Regions from separate parts of the Homo sapiens genome. Here all the other regions are linked to region 4. Evidence: promoter capture Hi-C in 16 types of primary human blood cells and fetal thymus (Javierre and others, 2016). All regions are on one chromosome and are shown on one strand. Each heading gives the region's core, a stretch centred on a gene start or on the middle of the fragment in contact. The rest is flanking DNA. Distances are from core to core; before and after follow the strand shown.

What was found. Contacts are between HindIII fragments. The CHiCAGO score rates a contact against its expected background, and 5 or more counts as called.
Region 1: a fragment that was not itself captured here is called in contact with the fragment with the promoter of NGRN in region 4 in 1 of 17 cell types (neutrophils); the score reaches 5.6 in neutrophils.
Region 2: a fragment that was not itself captured here is called in contact with the fragment with the promoter of NGRN in region 4 in 5 of 17 cell types (naive B cells, erythroblasts, total CD8 T cells and 2 more); the score reaches 7.1 in naive B cells.
Region 3: a fragment that was not itself captured here is called in contact with the fragment with the promoter of NGRN in region 4 in 1 of 17 cell types (monocytes); the score reaches 5.2 in monocytes.
Region 5: a contact is called between a fragment that was not itself captured here and the fragment with the promoter of NGRN in region 4, in 1 of 17 cell types (monocytes). The highest score is 5.6, in monocytes.

What each region holds. Positions count from the first base shown.
Region 1 is chr15:89,778,890-89,781,589 of GRCh38, forward strand. No RefSeq gene overlaps it. Among named protein-coding and RNA genes, the nearest start is that of MESP2, 3.9 kb to the left of the region's middle. The HindIII fragment of the contact is 2,570 bases long and covers 97-2,666 here.
Region 2 is chr15:90,560,322-90,563,021 of GRCh38, forward strand. All of the region lies in intron 2 of CRTC3 (CREB regulated transcription coactivator 3), which reads left to right. Among named protein-coding and RNA genes, the nearest start is that of CRTC3, 32 kb to the left of the region's middle. RefSeq lists an enhancer at 2,560-2,700. The HindIII fragment of the contact is 514 bases long and covers 1,034-1,547 here.
Region 3 is chr15:90,679,280-90,681,979 of GRCh38, forward strand. All of the region lies in intron 2 of CRTC3-AS1 (CRTC3 antisense RNA 1), which reads right to left. Among named protein-coding and RNA genes, the nearest start is that of LINC01585, 20 kb to the left of the region's middle. The HindIII fragment of the contact is 4,674 bases long and covers 1-2,700 here.
Region 4 is chr15:90,264,348-90,267,047 of GRCh38, forward strand. NGRN (neugrin, neurite outgrowth associated) reads left to right here and starts at 1,325. Exons shown (of 3, transcript NM_001033088.3): 1 at 1,325-1,529; 2 at 1,941-2,051. The coding sequence starts at 1,366. TTLL13 (tubulin tyrosine ligase like 13) reads left to right here. Exons shown (of 15, transcript NM_001396017.1): 15 at 373-1,130. The coding sequence ends at 620. It also overlaps a transcript of CIB1 not described here. RefSeq lists enhancers at 337-1,308, 796-925, 1,286-1,515, 1,309-2,279. The HindIII fragment of the contact is 8,147 bases long and covers 1-2,557 here.
Region 5 is chr15:90,609,951-90,612,718 of GRCh38, forward strand. All of the region lies in intron 6 of CRTC3 (CREB regulated transcription coactivator 3), which reads left to right. Among named protein-coding and RNA genes, the nearest start is that of LINC01585, 49 kb to the right of the region's middle. The HindIII fragment of the contact is 852 bases long and covers 1,053-1,904 here.

The DNA.
Region 1 (2,700 bases), core at 132-2,631, 490 kb before region 4:
GGCCCTCATTTGTCAGTTTGACCATATTTATTGCACTGGAGCTCCAGGGCCAAAAGCTCCACCTGGCTTGCTGTGCAAGGTAGCACAGGTGGGCTAAGCTTGGGCCTGCCCACTTGCCTCAGCCACATCACCACTGCCCTTTTGTGTTCTTCGGGTGCATTCCTGGTGACTGCTGGGGTGGGTGCATGCAGCTGTGGACAGACAGACAGGAGCCCCAAATGGGGAGACCACAGTCCCAGAGACCTGTCATTTAGGGCTCTTTCACAATGACATGAAATTTTCTTCAAAGAATACTGGGAGTGGTTCCTACGTGCTAGGCCCAGTGTATTAGTTTGCGAGGGCTGCCATACTAGAATGCCACGGGCTGAGTGCAGTGGCTTACGCCTGTAATCCCAGCACTTTGAGAGGCTGAGGTGGGAGGATCCCTTGAGGCCAGGAATTCGAGACCAGCCTGGGCAACATAGCAAGACCTTGTCCCTACAAAAAACTTAAAAAAACAACAACCACAGACTGGGTGGCTTAAACAACAGAAATTTATTTTCTCACAATTCTGGAGGCTAGAAGTCCAAGATCAAGGTGTAGGCAGGTTCAGTTTCTTCTGGGGCCTCTCTCTGTGGCTTGCAGATGACTGCCTGTTCGTTGAGCCCCTACATGGTCACACATCTGTCTCTATTGTCTGTGTCCTGATTTCTTATAAGGGCACTAGTCATGTTGGATCAGGACCTACCCTAAGGGACCCATTTAACTGTATTTACTCTTTTAGGGATCTTTCTTCTAATACAGTCACAGTTACATTCCGAAGTATTGGATGTTAGGGCTTAAACATAAGAAACTTCTTTTTTTTTTTTTTTTTTGAGACAGAGTCTTGCTCTGTCGTCCAGGCTGGAGTGCAATGGTGCAATCTCGGCTCACTGCAACCTCTGCCTCCCGGGTTCAAGCGATTCTCCTGCCTCAGCCTCCTGAGTAGCTGGGATTACAGATGCCTGCCACCATGCCCGGCTAATTTTTGTATTTTCAGTAGAGACAGGGTTTCACCATGTTGGCCAGGCTGGTCTCGAACTCCTGACCTCAAGTGATCCACCTGCCTCGGCCTCCCAAAGTGCTGGGATTACAGGTGTGAGCCACCACACCCAGCCAAACATAGGAAATTTTTTTTTTCTTTTTTTTTGAGAGGGAGTCTCACTCTGTCGCCCAGGCTGGAGTGCAGTGGCATGATCTCAGCTCACTGCAACCTCTGCCTCCCAGGCTCAAGTGATTCTCCTGCCTCAGTTTCCCTAGTAGCTGGCCTAGGTGCCTGCCACCATGGCTGGCTACTTTTTGTACTTTTAGTAGAGACAGGGTTTCACCATGTTGGCCAGGCTGGTCTTGAACCCCTAACCTCCAATGGTCCACCCGCCAAGGCGTCCCAAAGTGCTGGGATTACAGGCGTGAGCCACCACGCCCAGCCAGACATAGGAATTTTATGGGAACACAGTTCAGCCGCCTCAGCCTCCCAAAGTGCTGCTATTACAGGCATGAGCCACTGCGCTCAGCCATACAGGAATTTTATGGGGACATAATTCAGCCCATAACACCATGTGTTAGGTGCCAGAGAGAAAATATTCCCCAACTAATGTGAATTACAGGGAAATAAATGATCAGAGCCCAGGTCCTAAACACAAGGATGGGGGTTTGTGTGAGGTGCTTAGGGACCAGGATGCGGTAACCTGGTGGGAGGCGAGGTTGGCAGTACCATCTCATTCTTGAGTTACCTGATTCCTTAGTCCTGCTGCCTTGATTGCGGTGTCTTAAGAGTAAGAGGCACTGCCAGGATCTTGGGAAAAGGATGCCAAGATCTATTAGCAAAGGCTCCCGTGGGCATGGGAGCCAGCAGTGGTGGTAACTTCCTTCTGTATCTGCTGACTCAGGGAGGAGAGAGTGCAGAAGAGGTGACCTTGGAGCTGGGTGTTGAAGGATATGCAGGAGTTTATCAAGAGGAGTGAGGGAAGAGAGGTCCAGGCAGGAGCAACAGCATGAGCCAAGTCGAAACAGAAGCGTCTAGTGTCTAGAGATGACAGAGAAAAGTGGCAAACAGAGCCGGAAAGGGGCTTGGAGGCAAGTTTGTGGGGAGTTCCACGTGGTGGGTGATGAGGTTTTGGCCTCCGTTTCCCGAATGATGGGCAGCACTGAGGGTTGGGAGTTGGGGGTGAGCTGGTAAGAAGTCTGCTCTCAGTCCCTTCGGCCGCTTCATAGAAATGGAACCAGGCAGGAGGCCACTGCAACAGTCCAGCTTGAGAGAAAGGGAGAGGCAGCACAGAGCATGAGCTGCCTGATTTCCTGGGCTTGAGCTCTTGGCGTGTGGGGCTTTCCCCTCTCATCCTGCAAGGTTGCCCGTTGCCTCTGACACGCCCTGTGGCATCAGGCAAGTCACTCTTTCTGAGCTTCAGTTTTCACAGTTCCTAAAGGAGGAACTATCTTGGGTGGTGCTGAGGTACCTTCTTCCTCTAACCTTCCAGAAGTGCTCTGGTTCTGCCCTTAGGGCCCTGCTGTCCCGAGGGGCTGTCAGCCACAGCTGGAAGGATGAGAAAAATCCAGGCAAGGTTAGAGTAGACACACAGCATTGGGGCCCAGGTTGCGCATTCTACTCGGCTCTTACTTGCTGTGTAACCAAGTGAGACTGACAGATAAGCTTTGGAACCTCCCTGAGCCTCAGTTTCTTCA
Region 2 (2,700 bases), core at 41-2,540, 300 kb after region 4:
TCTTGAAAGAGAATGTGTTTTCTCAGAGCCAAGTAGACCCAAACATTTCCCAGACTTTGGCCACATAATCAGAAATTTCAAAAGAGTTCTGGAATTTGTGGGCTTAGCTCCAAGTTACCAGGCATCCGTTGTCTTCCCTGTGGGCAGAATTCGCTTTTAGCTTACTCCACCCTCCTCAGCTACGCAGCATGATTGGGGCAGACGATGAATACTTCAGATATCCCCTGTGGGGTTAACTCCAGAGGCAGCCTCAGAAACTAGACACATAATTCATATGGTCAAAACCTGGCAGGCTCTTCTGAAATCGTGTGACTTCCTATCAGGCCACCAGCTCTGCAGATCCTCAAAGGTCTGGCTGTCAGAACAATAGGGAATGAGAGCAGCGCCCAGATGCTGCCTGCTGGAGCTGCAGGTCCTGTTTGAGTCTGAACAATAAAAGTCCTGGAATGAATTACCAAGGCTCCTGATTGCACCCTGCAGGTTCAGGTTTAGTTTGTGGAGATGTCTCACATAAGAACTGTCTTGTAAGCCGCTTGGGGGGTTCAACAAAATTGGTCAACAAAATTTAATACCATACAAGCCCTTTTCTTGATCAAGCAATTTAGTAAGTCTCTGTCATAAGTCTCTATGACCTGCCATCCAATATGTCAAAATAAACAAAATTTTCATGTTGATGGTCACAAGTGCAGTCCCTAGAGTGGGGATCTGGTGACCACTTCCACCACTAACTAGCACTGGATCGTAGACAAGATCGTTAGTCTCTCTGTGTCTCAGCTCACTCATCTGCAAGATGTGGCTACTAATAGTACCTAAGATAGAGCTATTGGGAGGATTAAGTTAGGTAATGCATGTAAATCCTTAGAATAATGCCCAGCACAGTTGTTGTTCAATACATATTGCAAAGTTCCTAGTATAAACTCCCTGTTGCAGCCTTCTAATTTGACTTCAATAGATTGTTGGTACCATTTGCCTCTTTCTTTGCAGGTATCCTACCTAGGCCTAGAGAACTAAGCTTTTGCTGTTCATTATATGAAGCTTCTTAAATGTCATACAGGCTAGTTGCATCCTACTAATTCTTCACAGACTAGATAAAAATACTTTTGCTGAAGTCTTAATCGGCCTGTCCTGAAGTCAACCAGGCTGTATGTTAGTGCCTTGACTCAGTGCAGCTTTCAAGAGAGGCAGAAAGAATACCCACAGAGAAGGCACATGTGGGCGGTGGCAGTGTAGGACCAGGAAAGAAGCTAGGTCTCTATATTCCCTCGCATTTTGAATCTGTGTTAAATTCAATCATATTAGTATGAAGCAATCCTCTTACCTATCTCCTTAATCCAGCCTCTGACTGCCAGCTCACAAAAGAGGGAGAAGAGGCACTACATTTAAAGTAGTGATTATCTCTAACTAGAATTTTAAGTCCCTACATGTTTTGGCTGTAGAACCAGCCAAAGTTTTGTTCCAATTCCCTACAAAATTTCACAATAGTCAGGAGTTAGAATTGGTCCCTATGTTATGAAACAGCTAGTTTTTATACTTTAAACTTAAAATGAAGCTTTAGTTGTTTATTATTACTGTGGATATTTTCCAAGAGACAGAATAACATCTGTGGAAGATTCTACACAGGCCTTGATGCCAGACATTGTAATTATTTCCCTGCTCAAAGGCAATAGTCAGTGCCTCAAGGAACTCCCTGGCTATAAGCAGTTGGCTGCCTCGACAACAGATAGCTAATGTCTTAGCTCTTTTCTGTCTCTACCGCCAGCCTCTTGGGGATGTGACTTGAGAAAGCTCTCCCCTCCCCATTTTCTCCTGTAACCTCTTTGGAGGAAGTCACCAGGGTAACCACTTTCTTTTATGCTAGTTTTCTTGAGTGCAAGGGAAAACACTTCCCCACAGACATATGACAGAAGTTTAAGAGTGGTGAGGAGAAGAACACGAACAGTTACTGAGTACCTGAGCTATGCTTTGTGTACCTGATATCATTGAGTTCCCACATCAACCTTCTGAGATAGGCATTATCATCCCCATTTTACTGATGCTTAAACAGTAACATGCCCAAGGTCACACAAGTGGCAAGTGACAGTCAGGACTCAAACCCAGGTTTATCTTTCTCGGGCCTTTGCTCTTATTTTGCAAATTAAGCAAGTGTAGACACACAAAACCAATTTGTTTTTACCTAGGAAACGTGTTTTATGCTTTGTTTTTCTCAGTCTGGATAGATGCCGTTTTCTAGTCCCCTGGAACCATCGTATGCCCAGTTTAGTACCACTTTTGTTTGGTTTCTCGTCTTAGAATATATTCTGCTTATTCACTCCCCCGGCCACCTGAGAAATCTTTTTACTACTTTTAGTCCAAATCAAACTTTCCTTCCCTTGACTACCTAGGAAGTCTCTCCTTGGGTGAGTCTTAACTCGCCTGAACTGAGAGTCTCACCCTGGAACTTGGTTAAGAAAGGCCAGAGTTGGGAGGCAACAGCCTGGATGGAAGAGGGGGGTCAGTTGACACTGGAGGGGGCAAGCCAGACCAGCCGCAAGCAGGAGCCAAAAGGTCAGAAAGCCAGTGAGAATGGGGTGGGCCAACAGGAGCAGACCAGGCCACACAGGCTGTGACTCCCCCTTGCAGTGGCTGCTGGGCACTGGCCATGCCTGTGCTTGTCTCTCTCAGTATCTCTTACTCTGCCATCTTGTCATTCATGAAATTGCT
Region 3 (2,700 bases), core at 113-2,612, 410 kb after region 4:
CATGATCTAGGCAAGATATATACTTTTTTTTTTTTTTTTTTTTTTTGAGACAGGATCTCACTGTCTCCTTGGCTGGAGTGCATGGCAGTCACGACTTACAACAGCCTTGAACTCCTGGGCTCAAGGGATCCACTAGCTTCAGTCACCTGAGCAGCTGGGACCACAGGCACATACCACCATACCTGACACTCTCTCTCTGTCTCTCTCTATATATATTTGTTGTTGTTTGTTTGTTTGTTTTCGTAAAGACAGGGTCTTTTGTTTTGAGACAGATCTCACTCTGTTGCCCAGGCTGGAGTGCAGTGGCACGATCTCGGCTCATTGCAACCTCCGCCTCTCAGGTTCAAGTGATTCTCCTGCCTCAGCCTCCTGAGTAGCTGGGACTACAGGCACGTGCCACCACGCCCAGCTAATTTTTGTATTTTTAGTAGAGACAGGGTTTCACCATACTGGCCAGGCTGGTCTTGAACTCCTGACCTTGTGATCCACCTGCCTCCGTCTCCCAAAGTGCTGGGATTACAGGCGTGAGCCACCGTACCCGGCCAAGACAGGGTCTTTTTTTATTTTTCATTTTCTCAGCCTGAATATGTTTGTAGACAAGGTCTTGCTATGTTGCCCAGGTTCTACTCTTTTTAAACACAAAAATTACATAATTTTTCAGACAATCTGTTTTGCCATATTGAGAGGCCTTTGCATTAAGTCTGCTAATGCCCTGACAACCACCACATCACTTGGGATTTGGAGTCCCTTTGGGTTAGAGCAGGGTTTCTCAACTTCGGCACTATTGACATGTGGGCTGGATCATTTTGTTCTTTGGAGGCTGTTCTGACACTGCAGGTAGATGCCAGTAGCACCTCCCTAGTTGTGGCAACCAAAATGCCTCCAGACATTGCCCAATACCCCTGGGGGTGCCAAAATCATCCCCCGTTAAGAATCACTGGATGTCCTCTGGGATTCTACGGAAAACTTCCTGGAACAAACCAGAGAAAATCTGACTCCTGATGTCACATCCATGCCAGCTTCCTGCCTCTGTTTCCCCATTTGTCCAGTTGGGATCATGACTACAAGATAAAACAGCATATGGTGGGAAGCAATGGGACCTGCAAGGAGTCATCGTGGTACTCATGAGGAGCAGACATAAGGTCACAAGCAGCACTGCCCTGGAACTGCATGGCACTGTGCTGGCTTTGCCAAGGTGGTAGGGCATCCCACTGAACTGACTCAAGTCCCCAGGATTGCTCCAACTCTTGTATTCCCTCCAGGCCTCTTTTTAATGTTAGCGTTGTTTAAGATCTTTCATTTTACTGTCAAAAAGAGAAAGTCTCATTTAATTCATACCAGATGCTGAGTGAGTCGTCATGAATCAATACAACATTATCCAAAAACCACCAAAATGAATCATAAGGATAAACAGGATTTTTTTCTCCCTGCAAAACAGTGACTAAAATAGTGCCTTGCCCTTTTAGAAAAAAAAAAAAAAAAATCTGAGGTTAGGAGGAGGCCTAGGGCCCTGCTCATGTAATCCACGTGTCCGTGAGCATGGAATGGTTCAACTGCAGGTCCTAGGGAGACAGTGTATGAGGCCTGCAGCTAAGCCAGGCAGACACGGGCTGGAGAAGGTGTCCCAGAGTTAGGATTCAGGAATGGGGGTCCAGCAGCCCCCTGAAACTTATGCAATCCTCTGTTTCCATCCCAGTCTCAAAGCTGTCTGTGACTCAGAGAAGTTTTGTCACCCTCATTATGGATGAAGAGGCTCTTGGGAACTGTGGAGGGTCTTCTGGGAGGTGAGCATCCCAGAATTCTTCTGCTGCTGATAAAGCTAAGGCAGCCCATCAGCCTCATGAGCACTTATTTTCTCAGTCCTTCCTCTACTGTGATCCTGAGAATGCACTCTGAGTATGTAGGGGAGTCAGAAATGGTGTTTGTCCTCTCTGGGGCAGCAGGGAGGCTGGAGAGGGAAGGCTCTGGGCCCACCTAGGCACTCAGACTCTGACCCTTGAATGGAGGAAGCAAAAGCCAAGAAGAGGTTGGGGCTGACACATCTTTACAGTGTGGCCAGATGAGACTCTCAGTTGGTTCCAGCTTCTAGGTCCCCACGGCCTCCCTGTTTTCTGTCTTTTCCAGACCAGGCTCTTCAATTTCCCCTTCCATGTTGTGAGGGACTCCATAGCCTTCTTGTGAATTTCCCTTGGGGTCGGGGGTCAGTGTCTGTTTCTTGCCACCGCAGCACCAGGCTGGTTGTTTCTGTAAGAGGCTCTGAGAGCTGCGCCTCCCACATCCCTCACCTCCCAGACTTGTGCAGGAGTAGTCAGGAACATGCGGAGCTGGAACCACACTCGATGGCACCCACGAGGTCAAGTCAGAAGGGCTCCCTTCTGGTAAGGCAGAATCAGAGCCAAGGAGGCTGAGCGTTCCCTGCAATCACTGCCATCACTGATGAAGGAACTGACTCATCTGATGTGGGCCATTGAGGAATGTGGAGGTTGGACGAGTGACCACTAGGACCTTCAGCAATAGAGAAAATGGAACTGGCTGGGCACGGCGGCTCATACTTGTAATCCCAGAACTTTGGGAGGCTGAGGTGGGAGGATCACCTGAGGTCAGGAGTTCAAGACCAGCCTGGCCAACATGGTGAAACCTTGTCTCTACTAAAAATACAAAAATTGGCTGAGTGTGATGGCACGTGCCTGTAATCCCAGC
Region 4 (2,700 bases), core at 75-2,574:
GCTCGGCTAACTTTTGTATATTTTGTTTTTGCCACGTAGCCCAGGCTGGTCTTGAACTCCTGATCCACCTGAATCAGTCTCCCAAAGTGCTAGGATTACAGGTGTAAGCCACCGCACCAGGCCTATTTAATCCTTTCTGTACACTAGACCCTGGTGATAGAAATGGCAGAAATACAGTCCCAGCACTCAAGAGGTAATAGGAACATGGACAAAAAGACATACCATACCAATTACAATACAGTGTGGGAAAGACAGTGGAGGGAAGCATGAGATGCCCTTCCTCTGTGTTGGTAATTGGGCCACAGTTGGGAAAGAGGTGAACAAATCTCTTCTGTGAATACCAACTCAGGGACATCCATGTTTCCACTGCAGAAGGACAAGCCAGCAGAAGGCTAGAAGCCATAAACCGAGTCCTGGCAGGATCAGTGCCACCCACTTTAACCCCAAAGCAGGGCTATTTTCTGCAACCGGAAAGAGTGGCATCTGACTCATGGACTGAATGCACCTTGCCCTCCATGGTAAACTCTGAACACAGAGCAGCCAAGGTTCCCCTCTGCCCTGCGTCTGCACCCATGCTGCAGCGTTCCAGAGCACTCCTCAACATCAATCAGTTCAGGTAAAAGCAGGAGGGAAGCACTCTACCTCTCCTGGATAACCTCCCCAGGTTTCCAAAGGGCATTAAATCTTTGCTAAATGAATGACTGCCACCAAGTTCCACTTTGAAAAGCCCTGCCCAGGAACCCCATTTGTATAAGGCAAAATACAAAGACACCAAGAATTCCTCAATACCCTAAGATTAATTGGGGATCGGTAAAGACTAGAAGATGAAGAGGCGCCAAGGCCAGCCATGTACTCATTTCTGCTCATCAAGCCTTAGCCTGGGTTTATCGCTAGGTGATGGGTCTGAACCCTAGGTGCGGCCCGGGGCTGGAGGCCATCCAGGAGACAATGAGCCCCTTTCCCAGAGAAGCCGAGTGCCCAAGGCACTGGGCTGTCGCCGTCAGAAGACTGCCGAGCGGAAGCCCTGCCCACCGAGGTGGCGGAGACAGGCAGGCCTGGGCAGCCGCTGGGGCGGAGGGACGGCTCTTGGAAACGGAATCCGTACTTTAATTAAAGTTTATGCAGTTTTCCAGGAGCGTCCTGTACCTCATTTCGGCCCTCACGTTTCAGGGAAGCCCTCTCCACAGTTACAGGCAGAAAGGGTGGGCCACTGAGCAGCGTGAGCCCAGATCTTACCCCCACCAAGTGAAGCGGGAAATAACTTGCTACTACCCAGCCTCCGGCCCGCCCCTTCCACTTCCGGTCTTACCCGGCTACTTCCGCTGCTGTTTCGTAGCCGACTGCTGAAGGCTGGTTTGCGTCGACATGGCGGTTACCCTGAGTCTCTTGCTGGGCGGGCGCGTTTGCGCCGCCGTCACTCGCTGTGGGTTCGCGACCCGGGGGGTGGCGGGCCCAGGCCCTATTGGCCGGGAGCCGGACCCCGATTCCGACTGGGAGCCGGAGGAACGGGAGCTGCAGGAGGTGGAGAGGTACCGGCTTCTCCCCGGGCCCTCAGCTTGAAGCAGGGCCTCGTGCCCCGGCGCTCCAGGCCGCGCCCCCTTGGCGCCGGGTGTCCTGCCGCTGCTTGCGCAGCGGCCCTTGTTTCTTCTTACCCGTTGTTAGGGGCGCAGCGTCAGGTGTTCAGCTCCCCTGGGACCACTGGTCCCTTCATTAGTGACGTATTTCATCATCAGTTTAGAGAGTTCGGCATGCTTACAGGCAGTTATTGTTCTAGGTGTTAGCTTTCTGGGTGTACGGAGCAGCTCTAAGCCGGCAACATGGCCCGGTTGCCCTTGCGATCAAAGAGAAGAGGGCTGGGCGCTCCATGATTTAGCCTGAGGCTCTTCAAACATCCATTCTGCTTCCACGCATGGCTTCTGCCATTGGTTCTCTTCCCCCAGCACCCTGAAACGACAGAAACAAGCAATCCGATTCCAGAAAATTCGGAGGCAAATGGAGGCGCCTGGTGCCCCGCCCAGGACCCTGACGTGGGAAGCCATGGAGCAGATACGGTGAGACTCAGGATACCTTGTTTGTATCCGCTGTGATGAGAAGTGAAGGATGCTGGAGCCCAGAAACGGGTTTGGCTTTTTTGATACTGCTTTTATATTTTCGTTTACTTTTTGTCGTTGAAATTTATTATCAGAAAAGTAGAGTAATATAACGAACTTCCCTAACCCTGTCATTATCTAGATTTAATAGTGTTTTGTTTTGTTTTTTAAAGAGACGGGGTTTCGCTATCGCCTCGAACTCCAGACCTCAAGTGATTCTCCCGCCTCGGCCTCTCAGAGTGCTGGGATTACAGGCATGAGCCACTGCGCCCCGCCTGGTTTTAATAGTTTTTAACGTTATGACGTGGTTGGTTCATTTTTACTGAAATTTTTAAATAGTAAATCGCAGACATCACAACATTTAACCCTTGAATGTAGGTTGTGACGTTCCCAACCTAAGGTACAGGGATGCTGGTGCTTCCATAGGTAGGTGCATTTTTCTGAAGACAGGATCTATAATTTAGGAAAGCTTAAAAGAGTTTTTAAGTTTTTTTGTTTTGAGTAGGTAAAGTATTACATATGGCTCAACCTAACAGTATAACATGGTATACACATTGAGAATTATTTGTCCCACCCACTCTCCTGTGGGTACTTTTTTTTTTTTTTTTTG
Region 5 (2,768 bases), core at 229-2,728, 350 kb after region 4:
TCAGATGTCTGAACTGTGTGCCTGCTCCTGCAGTTGCCTTGCAAGTATAGCAGAACTCAGAAACACATCCTAATATGGATGTGTTTACATGGGAAAGCCAGTGTTTAAAATATTATTCAAGTCTCCAAGGATGGAAATTATTTCTGGAGAATTATATTTGTTGGTGGGAGCTATTTTAAATAGTTTCATGTATTTTCCTCCTGTGTTTCATTAAAGTTTTTCATTTTCTTTCCTTTTGGATTTTAAAACTATCAACTGGCTTTGCAAAAAGGTATTTCTTATAGGACCAACCAAAGAAAGATTTAAACAGTGATGGGAAAATATAATTGAAGCCCAGAACTGGGTTCTATGTTCGAAGCAATAATAACTCTTCTTTCCCTGGGAATCTCTCCTAGGCAGAATGATGCAGCCACACTTTTTTGTTATTGTTGTTGCTGTTGCTGTGAGCCCATGAGGAGAGCATCTGCTCACGGCTTAACTACATGAGCAATAAACTATGATACATTCATGAGTGGAGATTTGTGTCACAAGAAGACAAAGCCTGATACATGTTGAGTAATTTTCATAATAGCTATTGAGTTCCATGACAATTAGGCATAAATGATAAGCAGTTGGTATAAATGACAGAAATAAATTTTTATGGAACCAAACAGGATTTTTATAATTTCTCTCTTTTTGTTTAATTATTCAGAATCTATAAAGAGGGAATGTTGGCCATTTCCCTGGCAGCATGTGCACCTTAATGACCATTTCACACTTACATGCAGATAGGGAAGCACAGGACTCTGTGGGACACGTGCCCTGTCCCATAGCCTAGGACTGTCTCCTAACACCCCTCCTGACATCGGGCATGTGGAGGAGGGACTGGGGTGGTCTCTTCCTTTCAGGGAACAGTCTAGAGCTAAGGGGAGCAGAGTGCGTAATAGGTGTCTTCTCTGCATCCAGGGCTGTAGATGCTGAATATTGCCATCTTTGGGGACCACAGTACTCAGCTCCTTAGCGTGGAGGGGGCTTGGCATGCCTTGGACCTGGTGACCTTTCACCTGCCAATAAGCTTTGACCTGCAGAGTTAAGGAGAAGGTTTACAATGCAAAGAACCTTGAAAGATGTAAGCCTGTTAATTGCATGGATTGGGCGGGGGTACAGTGGCAGGTACAAGCATCCCAGATCTGAAGAGGGGCAAAAAGAGTGTCACCCAGGGACAGGAGGGCCCAGAGTGGGGAGGCTGAAACACCAGAGGCCTCCTTTAGGACAATGGTTAAGGGGTCTTCCCCTTGCCTTCCCTTCTACTTAGCAAATCAAGGCTGTGTAGGGAGTTATTTTAGATTTGCCAGGCATGGGAGCACACAGAAGGAACATGGTCTCGGTTCCCTTAGTTAGAAGAGACCGGCCCTCGGTGGCTCTGAGGTTTCCTGGAACACAGTTGCAGCCTTGGTCATCGCTGTCCCATCCCTGTGGGACTGATAAAATTAGTGTCCTGTTTCCAGAGAGCCAGTCACAACTCATTCCTTTTTCTTTTTAACCCTTTATTTGTAGTGCTATCTTGTGGGTTTTTAATTTAGCAGTAAAAATCCAGGCTTGGATATTTTGATGATATGTTAGCTTGGTGCCAGTATATCAGTCATTGCCACCACCATCCTTCTGGTCACCGCAGCCCAGACCCTGAGAGTTGCATCTGATTACTCCCATTCCCATGCCCCTACGCCCATTCAGTAGCCGAGTCCTGTTCATTTTATCCCAGCAGTATGTCTCAAATCTGCCTCTGGTTTTCTGTCCTCACTGCCAGTATCCTACTTGGTTCCTGTTTGCCTTGGACTATTGCATTGGTTTTCTAGTCGGCCTCCCTGCCTTAAGGCTTTCTCCTTTCAATCCACCTCCTACTCTGCTGCAAGAGCAGTCTCTGAAGCTTAACTCTGATCATGTCACTTCTCCAACTGAAACCTTCCATCCCCTACATCCTGCCAAATGACCAGCAGCCTGCTTCGGTCCAGCCCATCTCCCAGTCCTCCCACCATGTGCTGCAGCCACACTCTTCCATCTTCCTTCTCCTTCTTATCCTTCCCCAACCACCCCCCACTCCTCCTCCTCCTCCTCCTCCTCCTCCTCCGCCTCCACCTCCTCCTCCTCCTCCGCCTCCTCCTCCGCCTCTGCCTCCTCCTCACACTGGGCATCCCCTTCAGCTTCGCTTCCGGTTGTCTAAATCTTCCAGGTACTACAGCAAATTGGTTAGGGACATGAACATTCTGAAGACACACGGGCCAGAGTTCTAGTCCCAGAACTTACTAGCAGTGTGATCTTGGGGATGATAATAGCATCTACGTCGCAGAGTTGCTGTGGGGATCCCATGAGATCACCTGTGTAAAGCGCCTGGCACATAGTAAGTGAGCAGTCAGGTTGGCTGTTGGTTATCCTCTTCTTCACCATTATCCTTCAATGAATGGCGCCTCAGGTGCCACCTACTCCATGAAGCCTTCCTTCTGTTCCAGTCTGAGGAGAGCATGCACTAATGGGGCTGTCACATGGGGTATCTGCCAGCCACTCAGGCAGTTTCACATGGTAGCCCTCAGTTGAGTCCTCATGTTTCAGGGACAGGTCAGGCTTAATAATTAAACCTCGAGTGACTGGTGTCTTGATGATGAAGAGATGCTTCAGCACGCCATACCAGATTGCTATATAAAACCTAGTTTTTAGTTTTTAACAGGATAGTCACTTTTTAGTAATCAGAATGAAGTTCCCTGCCCTTTCTTAATATGAGGGTCTCAGGAAAG